Linked DNA regions of Homo sapiens: region 2 is linked to region 1. Evidence: promoter capture Hi-C in 16 types of primary human blood cells and fetal thymus (Javierre and others, 2016). All regions are on one chromosome and are shown on one strand. Each heading gives the region's core, a stretch centred on a gene start or on the middle of the fragment in contact. The rest is flanking DNA. Distances are from core to core; before and after follow the strand shown. Region 1 holds the start of MORC2-AS1 (MORC2 antisense RNA 1). Region 2 overlaps OSBP2 (oxysterol binding protein 2).

Evidence for each region. Contacts are between HindIII fragments. The CHiCAGO score rates a contact against its expected background, and 5 or more counts as called.
Region 2: a fragment that was not itself captured here is called in contact with the fragment with the promoter of MORC2-AS1 in region 1 in 1 of 17 cell types (endothelial precursors); the score reaches 5.0 in endothelial precursors.

The regions. Positions count from the first base shown.
Region 1 is chr22:30,917,760-30,924,294 of GRCh38, forward strand. It overlaps MORC2-AS1 (MORC2 antisense RNA 1), which reads left to right and starts at 4,549. Exons shown (of 2, transcript NR_026920.1): 1 at 4,549-4,756. LOC107985544 (a long non-coding RNA gene) reads right to left here and starts at 4,020. Exons shown (of 3, transcript NR_146603.1): 1 at 3,829-4,020. The HindIII fragment of the contact is 12,308 bases long and covers 1,200-6,535 here.
Region 2 is chr22:30,764,473-30,771,077 of GRCh38, forward strand. The region is part of intron 2 of OSBP2 (oxysterol binding protein 2); the gene reads left to right. Among named protein-coding and RNA genes, the nearest start is that of MIR3200, 36 kb to the left of the region's middle. The HindIII fragment of the contact is 5,811 bases long and covers 1,089-6,605 here.

The DNA.
Region 1 (6,535 bases), core at 3,299-5,798:
GGTGCAATCTTGGCTCACTGCAACTTCTGCCTCCCGGGTTCAAGCAATTCTTCTGCCTCAGCCTCCTGAGTAGCTGGATTACAGGCACTCACCATCACACCCCAGCTAATTTTTGTATTTTTAGTAGGGTTGGGGTTTCACCATGTTGGCCAGGCTGGTCTCAAACTCTTGACCTCAGGTGATCTGCCCGCCTCGGCCTCCCAAATTGCTGGGATTACAGGCGTGGGCCATTGCACCCGGCCAAGAAGTATTTCTTAAACAAGTTACAATAAAACTATAAATAAAGGACTGATAAATTATTATTCTACATTTTTAATTAAGGATTCCTAGTCCTCAAGACTCTGTAAAAAGAGAATAAAAAAGAAGGCATACCAAAGAATAGGAGAAAAAATCTGCAACACAGATAACTTATAAAGAACATGTCTCCAGAATATACAAAATTCAAATAAGAAAAAGATAAAATAGAAAAATGGGCCCAAATCTTGAGCAAACACTTCATCACAGAAAGCTAAATGGTCAATAAGGCCAGGCACAATGGCTCATGCCTGTAATCCCAGCACTTTGGGAGGCTGAGGCAAGCGGATCGCTTGTGTCCAGGAATTCAAGACCAGCCAGGGTGACATAGCGAAACCCTGTCTCTACGAAAAATACAAAAATTAGCCAGGCATTGTGGCACATGCCTGTAGTCCTAACTACTTGGGAGGCTGAGGCAGGAGGACTCCTTGAGCCCAGGAGGTGGAGGTTGCAGCGTGCTGCGATTGTGCCACTGCACTCCAGCCTGGGCGACAGAGCAAGACCCTGTCTCAAAAATAAATAAAAATAAATAAAATAAATGGTCAATAAATATAAGAAAAGGTGCTCAACCACATTTTGGAAATCAGAAAAATGTAAATTAAACCACACTTAGATACCACTATGCCCTCATCAGACTGGCAAAACATTTCAAGTCTAGCAATATCAAGCACAGGCAACAAAGTAGACAAAGCACTTATCCAGTGCCAATGAGTGTGAAAATTAACACAACCGGTTCTGGCATTACCTAGTAAAGTGGAAATGGGCATGAACTATGACTCTGCAATTCTACTCCAAGGTTTATATCCTAGGGCAGGGGTCCCCAACCCTCAGGCCACGGACTGGTACCAGTCCATGGCCTGTTAGGAACCAGACCCACAGCAGGTGAGCTGCAGGCAAGCAGGCAAAGCTTCATCTGTATTTACAGCCGCTACCCATTACCCATTACCACCTGAGCTCTGCCTCCAGTCAGATCAGCGGCGGCATTAGATTCTCATAGGAGCAAGAACCCTATGTAAACTGCGCATGCAAGGGATCTAGGTTGCATGTTCCTGATGAGAATCGAATGCCTGATGATCTGTCACTGTCTCCCATCACCCACAGATGAGACCATCTAGCTCCAGGAAAACAAGCTCAGGCTCCCACTGATTCTACATTATGGTGAGTTGTATAATTATTTCATTATATATTACAATGTAATAATAACAGAAATAAAGTGCACAATAAATGTAATGCGTTTGAATCATCCCAAAAACCATCCCCCACCCCAGTTCATGGAGAAACTGTCTTCCATGAAACCAGTCCCTGGTACCAAAAATGTTGGGGACAGCTGTCCCAGGGAGAAAGTCCTGCACACATGCAACAGGAGACATAAACAATGCACAGTTGCCAGTCTCAGAGGAATGCATTTAAAATTGTATTATGTTCAATTGCAGGTGTAATTCATTCATTTTCATTACTGTCTAGTATTCGGCAGTGATGTAGCAACCCAAATAACAAAGAGGCTCTCTAAAAGAAAAGACATATATACATAAATTTGCAATGCTTTGTTCCTAAATAAGTATATTTTCTTTTGAGAACCTCTCTTTATTGTTATTTAGGTTAACATCCAGAATACTATACAGTAGTGAAAATGAATAAATTACAGTTACATCCAACAACATGGATGATTTTCTGGAACACAATGTTGAAAATAAAAAAAAAGAAAACCGCAAAACAATAAAACGTTATGTCCATCTAAGTTCAAAAACAAAGCAAAATAAAACACTTAGGGCAAAATAAAACAGGAATACACAGAGCTCATAAAAATATAATGAAGAGTAAAGAAACATAATTATAAAATGAAATACTAAGAGTAATAAACACAATTCAGGATGATGGTGACCTCTGAGCAGGGAGACAAGGGGTCCAGGAAAGACACACAGGGATTTATAATATAACAAGCCAGGTGATGGGTGTTTGATGTATACTTTTTCTGCTTTATAATTTTTTTTTTTTTAAAGACAGTTTCTCACTCTGTCACCCAGGCTAGAGTACAGTGGCACGATCATAGCTCATTGCAGCCTCCACCTCCCGGGCTCAAGCGATTCTCCCACCTCGGCCTCAGCACAAACCCAGCTAATTTTTGTATTTAATGTGGAGATGGCGTCTTGCTATGTTGCCCAGGCTGGTCTCCAACTCCTGGGCTCAAGCAATCTGCCCACCTTGGCCTCCCAAAGTGTTGGAATTACAGGCGTGAGCCACCGCTTCAGGCCTCCTTTACAAATATTTTATACAGCATTCTTTCATAGCTACTCAATGTCTAATTGAAAATAAAAACAGCAGCATAAAGGAGAAAACTCTATGTTTTTTTTTTTTTTATAGAAGGTGTAAAGGCATTTGACAAAATTCAGCCAGTTTCCAGGGGGCACAGCCCACGTTTCATTCTGTGTGACTGCTGCCCCCTGGCGCCCAACTCAGGCAGGACTGGCAACTACCGGTGAGTCCCAGCAGCCGCAAGACAAACTAAAGGAAACCCCAACATTTTAAAAGCCACTTGCCGAAACTCTCACCGCTCAACTCTCACATGCGGATTTCCACGCATATCAGAAACAGCCCGGGATCATTATTCAACATTGTTTCAGAGGTTCTAACTAAAGCAAACTGACAAAATAAATTGGTATACTGGCAAATTTGTATCTATAAAAAACAGGCTTATTAAAACTACCAGAATTCCTAAGACAGAAAGTGAATTATATTAAATCATTAGCTTTTCTACATATTAATAATCAATGAGTAATACAGATGGAAAAAAGTATTCCATCACAATAGACAAAAACCATAAAACACTTAGGAATAATTTTAACCAGAAAGTTATAGAACCCGTATAAAGAATTTATAAAATCTTATTGGAGGACCTAAAAGAAGTCTTGAGTAAATGGAAAGCCATTTTTTATCCTCTGGGGGAGGATTAATATCACAAAAATGTCAATGCTCCCAAAACTTCCATTTAAATTTAATGCAATTATAATTTAAATCCCAATGGAACACTTTCTTTTAGGCAGGGATGGGAACGAACTGGATAATGCGATTAAATATTTCATGTGAGAGAATACATTCTAAGACTGGAAAAGCATTTTTTAACAAGTGAGGGAGACTGATCTATTTAGATGCTGATGACGCCCAAAATTATAGTTTCAGCCAGAACCTCACCCCTCACATCAGACTCACTTGTGCAACTGACCACAGATGTCTCCACTGGCGTCTAAGCGGGATCTCAAACTCAACAGGTCCACACCTGTTGGCTCATTTAGTAAGAGGCTCATTTAATAAGTGGGGCTGGAATAAGTTAATTTCCACCTGGGGGCGGGAGACGCTTGACTCTTGCCTTACAGCTTATACTAAAATATATTCCATAAGGACTATAGGTTGTCTAGTAAAAAATAAATAATAAACATTGCAACAAAATGTAAGAGAATATCGGGGGAAGGGGAGAAGAGAGAAGGGGATTGATTTCCCTAAGCATGATAGGAATCCCCAAAACTTTAAAACATTTACCTTTCAACAAACACCATAAACCAAGCCAAGGACAAACGCATAGAAAACGGACTAATGTTAACTAAGTCCAAGAGGCTTCAGGCGCTTGGCCTCGGGTCAAAAGGGAGACATACAGGCTGGCTCTTCCGGGCAAGAGGAAAAACACGCAGCTTCCTTTCCAAGTGTTCTTCCTTTCAGAGATAAAAGCGCCGACCCTAAGGACATCTGTTCAACGAATGTTTTTCCCTAATGACCCCCGGAAAGTTGGAAAGCCGGGGTAGAAAAGATTTCTTCTGCACTTTGACTTAATTAATGCGCAGCAGCTTGCAGGAAAAAAAAAAAATCCTCGCTTCTCTGTTTCGGGTGTGAGTGGGCCATTGCTCTCCCTGTAAGGAGCTACTAGAGACGCTGAGGCAGGAGAATCGCTTGAACCCTGGAGGCGGAGGTTGCAGTGAGGCGAGATGGCGCCACTGCACTCCAGCCTGGGCGACAGAGCGAAACTGTCTCAAAAAAAAAAAAAAAAAAAAAGTAGGGGATTAGAGCTGGCCACGGCTTCCCCAGAAACCTGCAGTTACTGGAGTAGGAAGAGGCCTCGGAGAATCCCTGGAAGCATCTACCTAAAAGACGCGAGGAAACCCCCAAAGGCCACAGGCACCTGCACCAAACCCTGAGTGCCGCAGGAAGCTCGCGAGGCTTCCAAAGCGCATGCGCAGGTCACGGTACGGGCACGTGCGGCGCGCCAGCAAAACCACGCAGGCGTCTTGTCGCTTCCGCCTCGAGCGTGTGGCGGGATTGCGGAAGCCCTCCACAGTTCATAACCGTTGGCTGGTTATGAACCGTTCATAACGGGCGTTAATAACCATACCCTGTTAGACTAAGCATGGTCCACCCGCGAATCCTCTACAGAGATGGCCAAGCGCTGGGGTCGTGGCTGCGTCCTCTAGGCCAGGTGAGAATTTACAACCCACCCTCGGCCACTGTTGTGCTGTGGCCGCTGATGATTAAGCATGAGGAACTCAGAAACTCTGAACCTTCTGACAAACGGGTTCTCCCCTGCCCACCGCGGTGCCCCAAACCCAGCAGGACAGATTGGTTTACATGGTGGGGCATTGGGGAGGACCCAGAGCTTTCAATAAGGGAAGAAATGATGTGGGGAGGGACAGTAAATCAAAGTAGGGGATTAGGCCGGGCGCTGTGGCTCACGTCTGTAATCCCAGCCCTTTGGGAGGCTGAGGCAGATGGATCTCTCGAGACTGGGAGTTCTAGACCAGCCTGGCCAACATGGCGAAACCCCATCTCTACTAAAAATACGAAAATTAGCCGGGCGTGGTGGCGCGCGCCTGTAATTCCAGCTACTAGAGAGGCTGAGGCAGGAGAATCGCTTGAACCCTGGAGGCAGAGGTTGCAATGAGGCAAGATGGCGCCACTGCACTCCAGCCTGGGCTACAGAGCGAGACTGTCTCAAAAAAAAAAAAAAAAAAAAGTAGGGGATTAGAGCTGGCCACAGCTTCCCCAGTAACCTGCAGTTACTGGAGCAGGAAGGGGCCTCGGAGAATCCCTGGAAGCATCTCAACAGAATCCAGAGGGGACAAGAAAAGAGGAGGGATACGTCTGTCGCATCCTTCCCTTCTCATTGATCCAAGTTTGCACTAGTGGTGTGAGCCCTCCTTATCTTCCAGGCCTTGGTGGGCAGCTGTTGACATGTCCAGAACCCCAGGAAGTGCTGAAGGTACCTGCAGTTCAGGCCCCATGGAAGCCCAGACCTCCTTCACCCTTCGGGGACACTGAAATTGGCCAAATGTTTAGGCCATGAGGATGGCTGCTGAGTAAGCCCATAATCCCTACATCGGACACAAGTAAGCAGGTGAAGGCCTACAGGTAGCAGGTAGGGGCCAGTGAATCTTGGAAGCAAAGATTTGGGGGTCAAGAACAGCAGGGAGCTCTGGGCCCCCATCCTAGCTTCAACCAGAGCAGCTCCAGGACTCCTGGCTTTCCATATGGGCTTCTGGATAAATTTTAGGTACTCCTGAGGCTGAATAAGCTGGAAAGCCTCTGCCATCACCCAACTCCGTTATTTTAGAGGAGGAACAGGAGCCAAAATGGGCAGTGACTTGTCTGAGGCCTTGCCAGCTTGAAGAAGGAAATGTCCGCTGAACCCAACAGTGGCCCTGGTAAGGCCTGGTGCATTGCAAGTTACCGGATGAAAATGGTGACTGGCCGGGTGCAGTGGCTCATGCCTGTAATCCCAGCCAAGGCGGGCAAATCACTTGAGATCAGGAGTTTGAGACCAGCCTGGCCAACATGGTGAAACCCTGTCTTTACCAAAAAATACAAAAATTAGCTGGGCATGGTGGCACGCACCTGTAGTCCCAGCTACTTGGGAGGCTGAGAGGGGAGAATCGCTGGAACCCAGGAGGTGAAGGTTGCAATGAGCCGAGACTGTGCCACTGCACTCCAGCCTGGGTGACAGAGCAAGAGTCCGTCACAAAACAAACAAAAACAGAAACAACCCCAAATGTCCGTAAGTAGGAGACAATATATCCAACACATGAAATGCTCTGTGGTTCATGAGAATAAAGAAGACCCATATGGGTTATTCTGAAGCAGGTTCCACTACACTAAGCTGCACTAAGTAGTTTTAACAGGCAGAAATGGAACAGAGTGGAAGTGCGTGCACTTAGGAGGGATACTCTCCAGGGAGAATTCAGGGATTGGGTGGGAGAAGGGA
Region 2 (6,605 bases), core at 2,744-5,243, 150 kb before region 1:
GTTGTTCTGGCTCTGTAAACAGCTCTCGGGAACCCTGCTGCCTGTGTGCCTGGGGATGCAAGTGGGCTTGGTCCACTTAACAGTCCTCTCTTCCCGTTTGAAGGAATGACTTCACAAAGCACAGTGTTTCTTACTTGTTGGGGGAGACATTCCTTAGGGCTTGGAGAATGCCTGCAGATACTGATCCAGGTTCTTCTGTGGCCACTGCCTCTGTCCTCACTCCCTAAGAAGATGGATGGGAACAGGGTTATGCTCTCCTTAGAACAAAGGGAAAATATAGGTGCATTCAAGCTATTGACCCTCAGACCCCTCAGTCCTGAGGAGGAGAGAAGCCCCATCCTCCCAGCTGGCCAGACAGTATAAAGAACTCTCTTATGAACTCACTTGAGTGAAAATTTGACTGGTATGGATTAAACAACACAAGAAAAGAAAACTGAATAACTTCTCTCTTACTTTGAGGGACATGAAGTCTTCCTGGGGGAGCATGTTAAAACTGCAGATTCCTAGGGCAGGACCACTGAGATTCAGATCCGATGGTCATATGGCACCTAGGGACCCCCATTTTAATTTTTATTTGTTTTAATTTAATTTAAATTTTTTTTATAGAGACAGGGCCTCACCGTGTTGCCCATGCTGGTCTCAAACTGCTGGGCTCAGGCAATTTTCCTGCCTCGGCCTCCCAAAGTGCTGGATTACAGGTGTGAGACACCCGGCCCTCCCCCATTTTTATTTTTTATTTTTATTTATTTATTTTTGAAATGGAGTCTTGCTCTGTTGCCCAGGCTGGAGTGCAGTGGTACGATCTCAGCTCACTGCAACCTCCACCTCCCGGGTTCAGACGATTCTCCTGCCTCAGCCTCCCCAGTAGCTGGGATTACAGGCTTGTGCCACCATGCCTGGCTAATTTTTGTGTTTTTAGTAGAGATGGGTTTCACCATGTTGTCCAGGCTGGTCTTGAACTCCTGACCTCAAGTGATCTGCCCACCTCCGCCTCCCAAACTGCTAGAATTACAGGCGTGAGCAACCACTCCCTACCTTCCCCCATTTTTATAATAAACATTCTACACAGGGCTCCTGCCAGCCCTCCAAGCTTCTCACTTTGAGAAGCACAGTCCGCTCTGTCAGACTCCCTGGATTGCTTATTGCTGCTATCTCTCTTCCCCCATCTCCAAATTCCATGTTTTTCTTGGAGGGAGGTTTAATTCAGCTTTACTCCACATATTTATTTAATGTGCTGGATCCAGGAAGACAAAAGTGATGGTGTAGGGCCTTATTGTTCATCAAGTGCATTGTATCTGAGTTTTTGGCCCCTGCCTTCTAGGCCTAGGTGCAGCCCCTCTCTCTACCTAAGAAAACCACTTCTGTCTATATCAGGAGTGCTATACCCTTTCTTCATCAGAGACTTTCTCTTCATGGTTCTCACCCCAACTGAGAAAATGGAATATAAGCGTGAATTATTGGTCATTAAAACTGATAGTGGAGCCAGGCATGGCAGTTCATGCCTGTAATCCCAGCATTTTGGGAGGCTGTAGTGGGAGGATCGCTTGAGGCCAGGAGTGGAGAGCAGCCTGGGCAACATATCAAGACCCCATCTTTCAAAAAAAGTAATAATAGTAACTGGGTGTGGTAGCACACACCTATAGTCCTACCTACTCAAGAGACTGAGGTGGGGCGATCACTTGAGCCCAGGAGGTCAAGGCTTCAGTGAACTATGATCATGCCTGGGTGACAGAGCAAGACCCTTTCTCTAAAAACAAAAACAAAAAACTGGTAGTAGTGAAGGGTATGGCTCATGGAAGGGACTAGTTTCTGTTTCTCTGGTGGCCTGGAATGAACATTGAATGGTACCTGGCGGGACAGCCATGCCTCCTTGATCTCTCAGCAGCTCAAGGTGCAAATTCCTTCCTCCCTGGCTATGACTTTAGGCTTTCCCAATAATACCACACAGCTTTTTGAACAAATAAACATATCTAGGCTAGTTCATAGGGTTTTTAGTTGTCGTCTTGCCTCTGTGCTCTTGAAGTTTTGAGCCCTTTGCATTTGGCAGTGTCCAGGCATTCAGGCCTGGAGCCCGTGTAGTGCCAGTGCCTCCCTCCACGCTCTTGGCCTGGTTGACCTCACCTAAACCCTCCAAAAAGCAGATGGTCAGACTCTCTTCCCTTCAAACTCTTCTCTGCCCTGACTCACACCTGGGCCATTTCATCCAGTGAGACTGAGGGAGGAGCGAGGGAGTCCATGTTTCCCCTCCATGACGCCGGGACAGGAAGCTAGACTCAGTCTCTTCCATATGGCCAGGAAGGGGAGTACCTGACTGCCCATCTTGGTTTTGGGAGAGAGAAAAACCAGTGCTCAGTCTGGGAAATGAGGTTTTGGGGGATTGTGATAAAATAGAGGACAGGACTCTGCAGGTCAAGGACAGAGGTGCATCCTGAGGGCGCACTGCAGTCAGGGCCAAGTGGCTCACTCTTTGCAGCTTTAGCAGCACCTTGGATATAGTTGCTGCTCCGTAAACGTGTTGATTGACAGAGGTGCAGGTAAAAACCTCAGAACAGTTGGGCTTAAGGATGCTACAAAAAAAGCTCTGGGATGGGATTTAATTTTTTTTTTTTTTAACTGTTGTTATCAGCCTGGCCAACACGGTGAAATCCCATCTCTACTAAAAATACAAAAAAAAAAAAAAAAAAAAAATTAGCCGGGCGTTGTGGCACGCACCTGAAATCCCAGGCACTCTGGAGGCTGAGCCAGGAGAATTGCTTGAGCCTGGGAGGCAAAGGTTTCAGTGAGCTAAGGTCACGCCACTGCACTCCAGCCTGGGCAACAGAGCAAGACTTTCTCTCTCTTAAAAAAAAAAAATGTTGTTATACAAAATAAACAGAAGTGAACAGAAGACTCTCAGGAATCGTCACATACCTGTCACCCAGATGCCACAGTTACCAGCTACCAGCTCATGGCCAGCCTTGTCTCTATGCCTCCATCCTCTTCCTCTGTCTCTATCATTTTGAAGCCCATTGCAGAGGTCATAGCATCCCATTTGTTAACATGTCTGGATGTATCTTTAAAAGATCAGAATTCCTTTTTTTTTTTTTTTAACATAACCAAAGTGCTATGATCATATCTAACAAATTAACAGTGGGTTGGAATGAAGTTTATTTAAAGGAGCCAGTCCTCTCCCTGTCTTAGAGAGTTTGCAGGAAGTAGAAAAGGGAATGCAGAGGGCTGAGAAAGGGGCCGCACATGTGCTTCCAGCAGCCAAGCTGGGCTCTGTTCAGTTCAGAGAAACCAAAGAGAGGTTAACAGCTCTCAGTTGGGAGAGGATCCGGGCCCTTCTCAAGGAAGGAGGGCTGGGCGTTGGCAAGATGTGTCTTCTGACCCTTGGCCTCATCACGGGCCCTGCAGGGTAAAGGGTGAGGGGCGTGGGTTGGGGAGTTGCTAGTGAGAGCACAGTCAGTTCCCAGGTATCCACATTAGGAGAAGAAGGAGCCACCAGAAAGTAGCATAGGAAAATGATGGTCTTATTCTTTAGGAGGTGTGAACAATTTGGATTTAGATGTGACCCTATGACCCATACAGATGGCTGCGGCTTACCCCTGAGAGACCTGTATAAATCAGTGCTAACTGAAAGAGGCCCAGGGTGAATGGGTCACTCGTGAGTTTGAATGCATGTGCAGAGCTCAAAGGAGATTGGTGTTCAGTTCTCAGAGAAACTGAGTTGGATTTTCACCCTGGGGGTGACAGCATTTGTTCTGAGCCCCTCCTCATGGGACTTTAGCCTGCCACCCAAGCCCAGGAGCCAGCCCAGAAGTGGCCACCTTATTTCAGTAGAGAAGTAGGCGTTATGTAATACGCCTCTGGGGGTGGGGGTTCTTCTTATGAAGAGGTCAGAGCATAACAAAAGTGGTTGTCTAGTTTAAAACATTCCTGTGGCCAGGCATGGTGGCTCATACCTATAATCCTAGCACTTTGGGAGGCCGAGGCGGGCAGATCACCTGAGGTCAGGAGTTTGAGACCAGCCTGATCAACATGGCGAAACCCCGTCTCTACTAAAACTATAAAAGTTATCTGGGCATGGTGGCATATGCCTGTAGTCCCACCTACTCGGGAGGCTGAGGCAGGAGAATCGCTTGAACCCGGGAGGCCCAGATTGCAGTGAGCCAAGATCACACCATTGCACTCCAGCCTGGGGGACAAGAGCGAGAAACTCCATCTCAAAAAAAAAAACAAAAACAAAAACCAAGAGCATTATTGCCATTAAGGTAGTTTAAGCATCATTTTCCTGCTAGGGCAATTACCTTGATTGCTAATTGTTTCCTTTGTAACTAGAGGGCATAATAGCACTTTCGTTTGTAATTATCAGATTGGAGTTTATTCTTTGTTACTGTTTAGGTGTTAACCTTCACGTGGATCTGTAGGCATGAGCACCGGACTCTGATGCAGGCAAGGCTGTCAACTCAGGATGTCACTAATCCAGAGGTGGAGGGCCCCGGGGTCCAGACCGGATGCCTGACCTAAACCTGAGGCTGGCAGGACTGTGACGTTTCCCTGGGGTACCCCCTGCATTTCAGTTTGCCAGTTTGAGCTTTGACTGGAGATGGTCATGGAAAGGTTGAGGCTGAGTATTCTGGGCTACGGAACTAGAAAGCTGGGCTCTGAGGGGGCCCCTCGGTCAGTTTGCTGAATCACAGTACCATGCCTGGTGGTATGAACAAGTATGGCTTAATAAAAGGGACACAAAATTTGGGATTCTGGCGTTGCTGTTGAGTCACTGTGTGAACTTTGGACAAGGCCCTCTCCCTCTCTAAGCTCCAATTTCTTTGCCCATCACAGGGACAAATAATGTCTACATAAAGAGATGGTTGTGAGGGTAAATAACAACAACAATAATACTTTTTAAATTAGGCTGGGCACAGTGGCTCACATCTGTATTCCCAGCACTTTCGGAGGCTAAGAAGAGCAGATCACTGAGGTCAGGAGTTTGAGACCAGCCTGGCCAACATGGCAAAACCCGGTCTCTACTAAAAATACAAAAATTAGCTGGGTGTGGTGGCACGCACCTGTAGTCCCAGCTACTCGGGAGGCTGAGGCAGGAGAATCACTTGAACCTGGGAGGCAGAGGTTGCAGTGAGCGGAGATTGCGCCACTACATTCCAGCCTGGGAAACAGAGAGAGACTCCATCTCAAAAACAAAAAAAATGTTAAATTAAATTAAATAATACAAAACAGTCTAGGTGAGAGGGAAGCACGTGGAACAGCTTCCAAATGCCAGTCGTCATCACTACCATTCCAGGCTCTTCAGCTCAGGTCCTTAGTTGACAACAGATCTGTGTGTGATGGTCTCATGCATGTGGGATGTCTTCTACCCACACTGGATATACCTCCATAGACAGTGATATGGTTTGGCTGTGTCTCACCCAAATCTCACCTTGAATTGTAATAATTGCCACGTGTTGAGGGTGGGGCCAGGTGGAGATAATTGAATCATGGGGTGGTTTCCCCCATACTGTTCTCATGGTAGTGAATAAGTCTCACAAGATCTGATGGTTTATAAAGGGGAGTTCCCCTGCACGTGCTCTCTTGCCTGCTGCCATGTACGATGTGAATTTGTTCCTCATTAACCTTCCCCCATGATTTTTTTTTTTTTTTTTTTTGAGATGGAGTCTCGCTCTGTTGCCCAGGCTGGAGTACAGTGGTGCAATCTCAGCTCACTGCAACCTCCGCCTCCCAGGTTCAAGCAATTCTCATGCCTTAGCCTCCTGAGTAGCTGGGATTACAGGTGTGTGCCACCATGCCTGGCTAATTTTTGTATTTTTAGTAGAGACAGGGTTCACCATGTTGGCCAGGCTGACGAACTCCTGACCTCAAGTGATCTGCCCATCTCGGCCTCCCAAAGTGCTGGGATTACTGGCATGAGACACCGGGCTGGCTGCCTTCCACCATGATTGTGAGGCCTCCACAGCCATGTGGAACTGTGAGTCCATTAAACTTCTTGCCTTTATAAATTACCCAGTCTCAGGTGTCTCCTTATTAGCAAGATGAGAATAGACTAATACATACAGGGATCTGTTTTACTAATTAGTTTTTTAAAAATTATTTTTTCATGGTTTTCTATCCAGGGTCAACTGGTGGCAGGGAACAAAACCCCGCTGAGACTGGCTGAAACACAAGTGGGGCCTGTGCTCAGGGTGCAGGAAGTGGAGCATCCAAGGGGAGAGGTGTGTCCACAGCTGCTCTCTCTGACACCCCCATTTCTGGTTCTCTCCCGGTGTCCCCTCTGTGTCCTTTCCCTCTGTAGCCTGGTTTCTTTGTTCCTCCATAATTTCGTTCTGTAGGTGGGCCTGGCCTGCCCTGGCTCTTGCCTGGCTTTGTGGCTGCCATCTCTGGCTCCAGCTTCAAATTCTTAGGTAAGAGGCTCTGGCACAGCTCAGAGCAGGTACCCTGCCCTGGCCCGATCCAGCATGGTCATTGCGGCTGCTTGAGTCATCTCGGCTCATTGCAACTTGCCGCCTTCCAGGTTCAAGCGATTCTCCTGCCTCAGCTTCCCAAGTCAAAGCAGGGCAAGGTCATGCCTGAGGGGCCACCAAAGTATATATAGCGAGGAAGCCTTAAAT